2 separate regions of the Homo sapiens genome follow, and region 2 is linked to region 1. Evidence: promoter capture Hi-C in human tissues and cell types (Jung and others, 2019). All regions are on one chromosome and are shown on one strand. Each heading gives the region's core, a stretch centred on a gene start or on the middle of the fragment in contact. The rest is flanking DNA. Distances are from core to core; before and after follow the strand shown. Region 1 holds the start of PCP2 (Purkinje cell protein 2). Region 2 overlaps LOC105372263 (a long non-coding RNA gene).

Region 1 (4,518 bases), core at 1,310-3,809:
GATCACGCCACTGCACTCCAGCCTGGGCAATAGAGTGAGACTTTGTCTCAAAAAGAAACATTTTACTCTCAGCCATGAGTAAGGAACCGAGAGCAGAGGAGTAGATGGTTTCCTTATTGCCTTCTCCTGGAAGAGTGAAGCGGATCCCACGCGGACCCCTTTGTAATTGGCAGGGGGCTTCCAGTGAAGACACTGAACCCTGAAGCCGTGGTCTGGGGCAGGGTGGTGGGAGAGGTGGGCGGGGGGGGGTGGTCCCGGCTCTGAGGTGTGTGCCCCTCCCCCCTTCCTGTCCCACCCGCTTCTCCACCCCTAGCTTCAAGAGATAGAGGAATTCAAAGAGAGGTTACGGAAGCGGCGGGAGGAGAAGCTCCTTCGCGACGCCCAGCAGAACTCCTGAGGCCTCCAAGTGGGAGTCCTAGCCCCTCCCCTGATGAAATATACATATACTCAGTTCCTTGTTATTCATTTAAGTGTTTTATTCTTTTATCAGTTTTTGGGGGCCGAGTGAGACCCAGGATGCCTCAGGCCCTCAGGGGGCTTGTGTCGGGGGCTGGGGGCTGCTGTTCCGACGGAAGCCGAGAGCGGTCGGGTCCTGAGGGGTGAGCAGGGGTTGGGGACTGAGGGTCCCAGCTCGTTTCTGTGCTCCGTCCTGTGGATGAAGAGGGGTCAGCCAGGGGGAGGGCTCAAGGGCAGTGCCGGCCACAGGTGGCGAACAATGGAGAGAGGGTGCAGGTAGCCACCGTGTCCCACCTCATTGTGAGCACTGGTCTATGTTTACCCTCAATATCTGCCATTTAGGGTGGCATTTGAGTGTGAGGTGGCAGGTCTTGGGGCCCTCGCTGGGATCTTGATCAGAACCCAAGCTTCGTGTATGTGTGAAGTCAACAGATGTGAGTATACAGATGTATATATCCTATGTGTGAGCTTACGTGACTTCCTCCCTGGGATACTTTCCTAGGAAGGGGTCCTATTTTCTCCCTTTGGCCTCCCCAGAACCTTCAGACTTGGGGGCAGGAGCCACAAGTTCCAGCCATGGGTCTTACACTAGCATGGCCCCTGTATAACCTTGGGCCCCTCTAGCCACTGCCTGGGCCTTGGTCCTCCCATCTGAAGTCAGGGCAGCGGATGGACAGAGATGGGGCAGGCCCTGTTCCCTCCTGGCTGGGGTGGAGGGCAGGATCGGAGAGCACTGCCTGGCGGGTTTCTCCTCGACATCGCCAGAACATCACCTACCTTGGACCCCACGGGCTGGAAGCCGGGCAGGCTGCTGACTGTCACACGTTGGTCATCCATGCGGCGGCCCTGGGTACTGGCCAGCATGTCCATGAGGCTGTCCATCTCGGGGGTGGGGTCGCTCTCTGCGTGGACGTTCACAGACTTGGGAGGACACAGCCGGAGTGGGGGCCCCCAACCCTACCCCTTCACCCCCACACAGATGCTTCAGGGTGCACAACCACCTCCCACATCCCGTGCCCCCAGGCCCTCCAGATGACCACTTGCCCTGCACTCCCACCCCGTTCACGCCCCATGGACAGCACCCCCGTGCCCATGCTCACGGCTCTTGGTGGTCTGGCCCGGCCCGGCTTGCAGTGAACAGCGCTGTCCCTCCATCCGGTCGCCCTGCACGTGGCTCAGCAGATTGAAGAAGCCCTCCTGGTCTGGGGAGCCCGCCTGGGGACAGACTCGCTCAGTCTGGTTGGCCCTTCAGCTTGGGGGCCCCTCCCCAAACTTCCTAGCCAGCTTGCTCACACCCTGACCCCGGGGCCTGCCGTCCCCACTTCCTCAGCTCTCACCATGGTCCCCGCCGATCCTCTCTGCAGAGCTGTTCTGAATGAGACATGAGTCTCCTTCCCAATCCCGGCCCCCGCCCCAGGGGCCCTGGCCAGCAGTGCCACTTCACGTGGTACCGCTTCAAGGGACAGGCTCCGATGCGTGTCCCGCCGTCCTAGATTGGGGCCTGATGAGTGTGGCCTGGGAGCTGGGACACGAATCAGGGAAACATGGCCCAGGAGCTACCCCCAGGTCCCAGCATCTCCCATCAATAGGGGTCCACACGGAGAGCCCTGCCCTCTGCCCTGGGGCCTGGCACTCAGACCCCCAAGCCCACCAGCCCCTTTCTACAGCCACAACTGGGTCAGGGGGTCCTAGGAGACTCACTCGTTAATTAGGTGCCCTACAAACTAGTCTTGTCAATCATGGGCTCTGAGACCTTGAGCTGGGGGTGGGGTGGGGGCAGGGCCCTCTCACCTCGGCACAGGGGCCTGAGCCTTCCTCCGTCTTCTCCTCCTGATCCATCATGTCCCTGGACTCCAGTCACTTTTCTGCTGGCCTCTGCCCCGGCCCAGTGCCAGAGAGGGCCTTTTAAACGTCCAGGACGTGGGGGTGTGGATTCCCCCCATCCCCAAATCCCCAGCTCATGCCCCATCTGCTCCCACCCAAGCTTAAGCCCCATAAAGATCATCCAGATAATTGTTTGCCCACAACGATGCTGGATCTGGCATGGTGGGTAGGGGGCAGGGCGACCTGAGCTTGGACCTCGCTGTGCCCAGCAGCAATGACTGGACCCCAGGGACTCTCAGGTGTGATGTCACAAAAGGCCTGAGCAGCATCCCCACAGTTGGAGAAGGGAGGCCAACAGTGTAGGGTGGTAGCTGGCTTAGGGAGGACTTGCAGGTGTCCCCACCCAGCCACCCAGGTTCCCCCACTGGCTCCTGAAAGGGCAGCTGCCACCTGCAGTCGGTACAGAAAAAGGAGGTTGGAGTCAAAGGCCCCTTCCCTCCCTCCCTCTCTGCACCTGCCTCAGACACCACCGGCCACCCTAGCTCCAGCTCTGTCTCCTTGGCAGCAAGTCAAGGGGTCTCCCAGCCACCCTTCCTTCAACTCACTGTCCCTGGAGCCTGGTTGCCTGCCCCAGACCCCAAAACAAGAAAGTCTGGGGTCTCCTGTTCCCACACCACCTAAATGCCAGGTTGAGCTATCTCCTCTCCTCTATCACCCTAGCCCCAGGTGGGAACAGGAGGCGAGACTCCCTGGGGACAGAGGCAGGCGGGGAGAGGACGTCCCTGCCTTTTCCCCCGAGCCACTGTGGCTTTCCCTCAGTGCCCAAGCAGGGGATACCACTGGGAGGTCCCCATCCCCTTCCCTTCCCTCCCCAAGACGCCTTTACGGAAACCAGTGGAAGTTTCATCTCAGAATGAATGGGCTGCACTATCACCACCTCTGCCCGAGCCTCCTCTGTTCCACAAAAGGCCAAGTTCACACTCTCTCCCTCTATGCCAATGAAGTGTCCCCCTCCTCAGTACGTGTATCCCTTTCCTAGGCCTGCCAGAACAAAGTGTCATAGACCAGATGGCTTAAAACACATAAGTTGACTTTTGTTATATATTTTTATATAGAGATGAGGTCTCACTATTTTGCCCAGGCTAGTCTCAAACTCCTGGGTTCATGTGATCCTCCTGCCTGGGCCTCCCAAAGTGCTGGGATTACAGGCATGAGCCACCATGCTGAGCCTTTAAAATTTTTTTTTAACAAATTTATTGAGCCAACGTTCCAGAGGCCACAGCCTGAAATGAAGGTGTTGGCAGAGCTGTGCTCCCTCTGAAAACCAGGTCTCAGGAGCCCTCCTTGCCCCTCCCTGGCTTTTGGCAGTGGCCTGCCGTCCTTGATGTCCTTGGCTTGTCACTGCAGCTCTTCACTCCCTGCCTCCGTGGTCACATGGCATTCTCCCTCTGTGTCCCAGTCTTCATATACCCATTTCCCCACCCCCCCAACCACCTACACAGAACCAGGCAGACATATAACTATCTTACAAGGACACCAGTGATATTGCATTAGGGGCCTACTCTACTCCAGTGTGACCTCATGCTCACTGCTAATATCTATACTAACCCCATTTCAAATAAGATCCTATTGTGGGGTATTGGGGATTAGTACTTCATATCTTTTGGGGGTTAGTGGTGGGGTGGCTGGCCCTAACAGCTCTCTGTCCCCCCAAGGGGTCAGGCTGAGAAGCTGGAGGCGGTCCTGGCTTCCATCCCCCCAGGATCTGGAGGGTTCCCCGCCTTCCCCTGCTCAAAACTCTTGAGAAGACAAAACCCAAACACCTAGGGGTTGTGGAAATGTTCTAAAATGGATTGTGGTAATGGACACACAACTCCAAAAATACTGAAAGCCATTGACTTACGCACCTTAGGTCAGCGAGTTGTATGGTATGTGAATTATATCTCAGTAAAGCTGTTACAAAAGGAGGAAGGGGCAGGGTGCGGTGGCTCATACCTAAAATCCTAACACTTTGGGAGGCCAAGGCAGGAGGATCCCTTGAGCCCAGGAGTTTGATACCAGCCTGGGCAACATAGGGAGATCCTGTCTCTTAACAACAACAACAAAATCAACCGGGCACGGTGGCGTGCACCTGTAGTCCCAGCTACTTGGGTGGCCGAAGTGGAAGAATCCCTTGAGCTCAGGAAGTCGAGGCTGCAGTGAGCTATGATCGTGCCACTGCCCTCCAGCCTGAGCAAC
Region 2 (6,775 bases), core at 1,387-3,886, 150 kb after region 1:
CGGAGACATCGCAGAGGATATGCTATTGGGTAATGGCCCTTATTCAGACCTGGAACATCAAATGGAACTAAACGCGCCTGGGCCACAATTCCTGAAGAGGGAGTCCCAGTACAATCCTTTTTACCTTTCATGGAAGGGTCACAGGAGCCCTCTGCACAATTTCTTGCAAGATTACGAGAGGCAGTGAAGTGTCAGATTCCTCATGCCACTGCCGCAGAGGCGCTAACCTTAACTTTAGCTTCTGAGAATGCAGACGCAGATTGTAAACGTGCACTGGCACCCGTGAGGTGTACTAAAAACTTGGGAAATTTTCTCAGAGCTTGTCAGGATGTAGGAATTGAGCTTCATCGCTCTGCAATGTTAGCGGAAGCAATGGCTGATTTAGTAGTTGACAAATCTAAAAGGAGCCAAGGATTAAGCCCTCAAGTGGGAAAATGTTATAATTGTGGAAAAACTGGACATTTTGAAAAAGAATGCCGCCAGATCTCAGGACAGAGAGGACCTTATAATGCAGTACCCCCCCCCTCAGTGGAAAAAACGCCAGGACTTTTATTTACTTTTATTTACCCAATAAAATGTGAAGGGCTTTAAAGCTCAGGGCCCTTGTTCAGTAGAAGCAAGAAGCCCCCGACCCCTTTTTCCAAATATACTTTTTTGTCTTTATCTTTATTCCTGCATTTATCATCCTCTGTTCACTACAACAGGGATCAAGGTCAGTGACAGTTGCCGACAACCTTTGGCATTCCTTGGCTTGCAGACCCTTTGCTCGACTCTCTGCCTCTTTTGTCACGTGGCTTTCTTCCCTCTTGCCGTTTTACATAATCTTCTCTCTGTACCTTTCTCCTCCTCATATAAGGACATAGTGATACTGGATTAGGGACCACTCTCATGACCTCACCATAATGTAGTTACATCAGCAAAGACCCTATTTCTCGGCTGGGCACAGTGGCTCACGTCTGTAATCCCAGCACTTTGGGAGGCCGAGGCAGGTGGATCACCTAAGGTCAGGAGTTCGAGACCAGCCTGACCAACATGGAGAAACCTTGTCTCTACTAAAAATACAAAATTAGCCGGGCGTGGTGACACACACCTGTAATCCCAGCTACTCAAGAGGCTGAGGCAGCAGAATCACTTGAACCCGGGAGGCAGAGGTTGCAACGAGCCGAGGTCTTACCACTGCACTCCAGCCTGGGCAACAGAGTGAAACTCCATCTCAAAAAAAAAAAAAAAAAAAAGACCGTGTTTCCCAATTTTAAAAGTCACATTCACAGATACCAGAGGTTAGGCATTCAGCATGTCTTTTTGGGAGCTATAAATCAACCCACTAAACCACGGACATCTTTATTTGTTCTTCATTTTACCTAAAATGTTTCTCATATTTTAGTGTTATGTAAGATATTTCTGTAGGATCCCAGAAATTACCACTTCTCAAATTAAGAAAGCTTTATTCTGTTCTCTCTTTATTAAGCATTTAGTTTTTGTGCCTGTCTTCATTTTTAAATGAATAATGGGTATTGAATAGATATATCTCATAAATGTAATGTAGAGAGGACAAAAACAAGTTACGGAAGGATATAGACCATGTGGTAACACTCCTGTAAAGTTTTCAGATGTGCAAAACAAACCAGCATAGGTCAGGCATGGCAGCTCATGCCTGTAATCCCAACACTTTGGGAGGCTGAGGTGGGTGGATCACCTGAGGTCAGGAGTTCAAGATCAGCCTGACCAATATGGTGAAACCCCGTCTCTACTAAAAATACAAAAATTAGCCAGGTGTGGGGGAGTGTGCCTGTGGTCCCAGCTATTCAGGAGGCTGAGACAGAAGAATTGCTTGAACCTGGGAGGCAGACGTTGCAATGAGCCGAGATCGTACCACTGCACTCCAGCCTGGGTAACAGAGTGAGACTTCTTCTCAAAAAAAAAAAAATCCAAAATATTGTCCTTGGGTACATGCATAATTATTTTAAATAGGATAAACACCAAGTTTGGGAGGGCAGTTACCTTGGGGAGGGGAATAGGAGCAGGGTGGGGTACAAGGGACCTCCACTCTATTTGTTATGATTTGTTACGTAATGATGCTTTACTTTTAAGGTGATCTGAAATACATGAAGATGTCAAAACTTGAAAAAGCCGAGTGAAAGGCATAGCGTTTATATTTGTTTCTACAAACCTCTTTGCATGCTTCGTAATAAAAAAGCAAAGCCAAAATTCAGAGCGACAACCAATGTGCCACATGCCCTTTGCAGTGGGCTGGCTTCCCTGGTTACAGCAACCCTCTCATCTCTGCAGAGAATGGAAACCAGAGTGGTCATGGCCTTGGAGCTGAATCTTGTGACTTTCACCTTCTTCCCACATTTGTCCAAACCTCTTGTCCCTGCTCTTCAGGTCCTTGTGTGATGTGACCCAGCTGACACCCTAGCCCCAGATGACTGCCCCTGAATTAGTCTCAGCTTCTCCAACCTGTTCCCTTATCCTCTATTCTTGCATGTGCTGATACCGTATTGAGAACGTTCTTTAATGTTATTTATCTCCTCTGGAATAATTCTGACTCCCTCCTCAAGCATCACCTCCTCCAGGAAGCCCTCTCGGATCCTCCAGGCTCAGCCAGTGTCTCCAGTGGTCCTCACAGTCTCCTGTACTTCCCAAGCTCATCATATTGTCTTCAAATTCCGTGGTTACATGTTCCCCACTCGCCTGAGAAACAGGCCTCCCTTCCTTGTCCTGGGCCAGGGATAGATGTGGAGGTCTGCTGCCTCCTTCTAGGACCTCTCTTCCGCTCTCAGTTACCCCGCAGCGAGGTCTGGGCACAGGACATTGATGGGCAGCCTTCTGGCTTCCTCACTAAGCTGGACAGCTCCGCCCTGGCTCGCCAAGGCAGCTTCAGCCACAGGTGTATCCAGCAGAGCCTCTATCTCCTCCATAAGGTCTGATGAAACACTGCCATCTAAATCCTTTCCCCAGAACACATTCCTATGGTTGCCCTGGACAGAGATTGTGCAATCCTTGCAGTTTTTCTGATTTCCTCCCTTTGAGCACCTGTCCCTAAAAGCCTCAGAATGAAGAGGGCGTGCCCTCCAAAAAGTTCCTGCCCTACGGTTAAGCCTGCTGCTAAGTCAGCTTTCAGCGCTCCGTTTCTGATGATGAAAGCAAGATGAGTCAGATGGTTTGGGAACAAGGGAACTTCTAGAAAGAAGAGTCTAGGAAGCTAAGTTTTGTTAACCCTTCAGCGTCTCCTAAGCACTGCTAACTTTTAATGTTTAACCCTTCCTCCTCCCTCTGTACCATAGACATCCATTCTGATGTGTTTGATACATGCCCTTACATTAGTTTTTTAAGGAAAATATGCTTACATTTGCCTTTCTTATTGCTATAAATTTATGGGGTACAGGTGTAATTTTGTTGCATGCATAGATTTCATAGTAGTGAAGTCATATCCTTAATATTTATACATACTTGGAGTGTGTGTGTATGTGTGTGTGTGTGTGTGTGTGTGTGTGTTATTGAATCAAATCATTTCTGCTTCTCCCAGCTCTAGGCTACTAAGAATCTGGACTGCTGCTGCCTGTACAACTAGTTGATTACGATTTGTTTCATGTGTGTACTCACTACACTTTACTTACTCTTTGCCTGCTCAGGGTCTTGTAGGTTACCCCCAACTCTGCTACTGTAAACAACACTGTGTTGAACATCCTTGTAAATGCCCTTGGAGAAACCTTCTCTAAAAAGTATCTCTTTTTAAAATATCAGAGGGTATATGCCACCTGTATTTCACTACATACTTCCAGACTGTTTTCCAAATTACTGAACTAATTTATACTTCCACCAGCAGTGAGCAACAGTTCCCACTTCCTCACATCTTCACCAACACTTAATACTATGCATCTTTTTAATGGTTGCATTTTAATTGGTATAAGGTTGTACCTCATTATTTTTTCTACAATTAAGTAGACATTAAACTTTCCTGAAATATGTGCTCAATCTTTGGCTTCTTCTATGAATTGCCTTTTCATTCCCCTGGCCCATTTTTCAATTGATTTTTGTGTGTGGGTGTTTCTTTGTTTGTTTTGTTTTGTTTTTTGTTTTGTTTCTTGGGACAGAGTCTTGCTCTGTCACCCAGGCTGGAGTGCAGTGGCACAATCTCAGCTCACTGCAACCAACCTCTGCCTCCCGGTTCAAGCAATTCTCCTGCCTCAGCCTCCAGGGTAGCTGAGATTACAGGCGCCCACCACGCCTGGCTAATTTGTATTTTTAGTAGAGACGAGGTTTCACCATGTTGGCCAGGCTGGTCTCGAACTCCTGACCTCAGGTGATCCACCTGCCTCAGCCTCCCAAAGTGCTGGGATTACACATGTGGGCCACTGCGCCTGGCTGGCCCTTTTATGTTAATTCTTCTGACCTCTGGAAACATTAGCTATCTTTATCCAAATCCTTTTTACAGTATTCTCTAATTGAATTTAAATTTTTTTCTCTGCAGATATGTCCTGTGCATTTTTTTTATTTTTATTTTACAGTCTTCCTCTATTACCCAGCTAGAGTGCAGTGGCACTATCATAGCTCACTACAGCCTGGAGCCTCGAACTCCTGGGCTCAAGTGATCCTCCCACCTCAGTCTTCAGAGTAGCTGGGACTACAGGCGCATGCCACTACATTTGACTAATTTTTGTATTTTTTGTAGAGAGGAGGGCCTCACCATGTTGCCCAGGCTGGTCTTGAACTCTTGGGCCCAAGCGATCTACCCGCCTCAGCCTCCCAAAAGGCCGGGATTACAGGCATGAGCCACCGCACCTGGCCTCTGGTGCATTCTTTATTGATTCTTAGATACACGATAATTTGAGTTGCTATTTTAGAGGCTTTATTTTTCATTAACTTTCTAGTTTGTTGTTTCTATTAATTTTAGTAATGTAATCACTCTGTGCAAATGCTCTTCGTAGTTGCAATCTTTACATTTATTCCTCTATGTAGGTGATAATATTTTTTTTTTTTTGAGGTGGAGTCTCGCTGTGTCCCCGAGGCTGGAGTGCAGTGGCGCGATCTTGGCTCACTGCAAGCTCCGCCTCCCGGGTTCACGCCATTCTCCTGCCTCAGCTTCCCGTGTAGCTGGGACTACAGTCGCCCGCCACCATGCCCGGCTAATATTTTGTATTTTTAGTAGAGACGGGGTTTCACCTTGTTAGCCAGGATGGTCTCGATCTCCTGACCTCGTGATCCGCCCACCTCAGCCTCCCAAAGTGCTGGGATTACAGGCGTCAGCCACCGCGCCCGGCTGGTTATAATATTTTAAAATACCTGGCACATGGCAGGTATTCAATGTTTGTTGAAAGAATGCATGAACATTGAGAGTTTTTGATGAACCTGAGATGGTTCTGGGTAGACATGCGTAACTTCATTGTTTCTCGGTGTTTCTTTGAGAGAAGCCCCGTCACTGTACTCTTTTCAGGGTTGGTAAAAGAAAACTGGGGCTTCTAGGCTGGCCGCCGTGGCTCACACCTGTAATCCCAGCACTTTGGGAGGTCAAGGAAGGCGGATCATCTGAGGTCACGAATTCGAGACCAGCCTGTCCAACACGGTGAAACCCCATCTCTACTAAAAATACAAAAATTAGCCAAGCGTGGTGGCACGCACCTGTAATCCCAGCTACTTGGGAGGCTGAGGCAGGAGAATCGCTTGAACTTGGGAGGCGGAGGTTGCAGTGAGCCGAGATTGCATCACTGCACTCCAGCCTGGACAACAAAGGGAGACTCTGTCTCAAAAGAAAAAAAGAAAAAGAAAGTTGAGGCTTCCTGAAGCTACACACTGCACAGCCCCATCCGCCACCCACCAAGTGGTAGAGTCCTGCAGCTCAGCAGACCACCTCCTCAACAAAACCTCTGTTTGCTCTCTTCTGGCACAGAGGGAGTGAATCAAGGTCAGGTTCAGACCCAGCCTCTGAGGAGGGACCTGAACTGGCCTGGGGAGCTACGCCTTGGGGGCTTTCTCAGGAGCCAGCAGGGGTTACAATTTGGTCGGGTCCAGTGTGTCCCTCTCAGGCGGAAACCCAGCCCCAGGCCCATAAGAGAGGGGTCCAAGCTCCAAAGAGAAGCCTCCAGCACCAGCCTGGGGATGGAGCTGCAGCGACGAGGACCGGGAAGCTGGAACTACCTCACCCCGAGCCCAGCTCAGCCCAGCCCAGCCCAGAAAGGGCCCAACCCTGTGATTGGTCCAACCCTGTGATTTGTCCTTGGGTCCCTGTTGCCAGGAATCCAGGCCAAGAAAATGAGAAGGAAGGAAGGGAGTGCGTAGGTCCAGTGAGGACGAGGGTGAAATTTATATCTCTGCCCAGGTCTCGGTGCCTGCACCGCCATAGACACCACCAGGTACAGCAACTGGGGCGGGAGCTACGAGGAGGTCCCCGGAGGTATGAGCAAGGAGACTGCCCCATCCCTGCCCCGGTGTCTGGGGTTTGATGGGGGAGGGGAGGGAAGAGCCAAGACGGGCCAGAGTCGTGGGTGCAAAAAAAACAACACAGAGCCAGTTGGACCAGGGGCCAATTCCAACTCTGCCACTTAGAAGCTGTGTGACCATAGGCAAGTTACTTAACCTCTCTGAAACTCAGTTTCCTGAGAGGAACCCAGGCCTCTAGGGCTCAGTCCTGGGGGACCCAGCATGCCGTCCTTGTTCTGCCAGGGCACTGGGGACGCTGGGTGCACTGGAGCCCGAGACCCCTCTTCCTGGCCATGGCTGTCCTGGTCGCCAGTACTGTGGGCTGTGATTCTGAGTATCCTATTGTCCAAGGGTG

What was found. The method cuts DNA at HindIII sites, captures the fragments that hold promoters and counts their contacts. A contact is called where the count stands out against the background at its distance.
Region 2: a fragment that was not itself captured here is called in contact with the fragment with the promoter of PCP2 in region 1 in 1 of the 25 tissues and cell types used here (lymphoblastoid cells).

The regions. Positions count from the first base shown.
Region 1 is chr19:7,631,160-7,635,677 of GRCh38, forward strand. It overlaps PCP2 (Purkinje cell protein 2), which reads right to left and starts at 2,560. Exons shown (of 4, transcript NM_174895.3): 1 at 2,248-2,560; 2 at 1,557-1,671; 3 at 1,234-1,358; 4 at 456-649. The coding sequence starts at 2,298. The coding sequence ends at 530. It overlaps PET100 (PET100 cytochrome c oxidase chaperone), which reads left to right. Exons shown (of 4, transcript NM_001171155.2): 4 at 314-797. The coding sequence ends at 397. It also overlaps a transcript of STXBP2 not described here. The HindIII fragment of the contact is 8,717 bases long and covers 1,652-4,518 here.
Region 2 is chr19:7,781,207-7,787,981 of GRCh38, forward strand. It overlaps LOC105372263 (a long non-coding RNA gene), which reads left to right. Exons shown (of 5, transcript XR_001753858.2): 5 at 2,290-3,978. It also overlaps the pseudogene CLEC4GP1. Among named protein-coding and RNA genes, the nearest start is that of CLEC4M, 21 kb to the left of the region's middle. The HindIII fragment of the contact is 6,477 bases long and covers 1-5,875 here.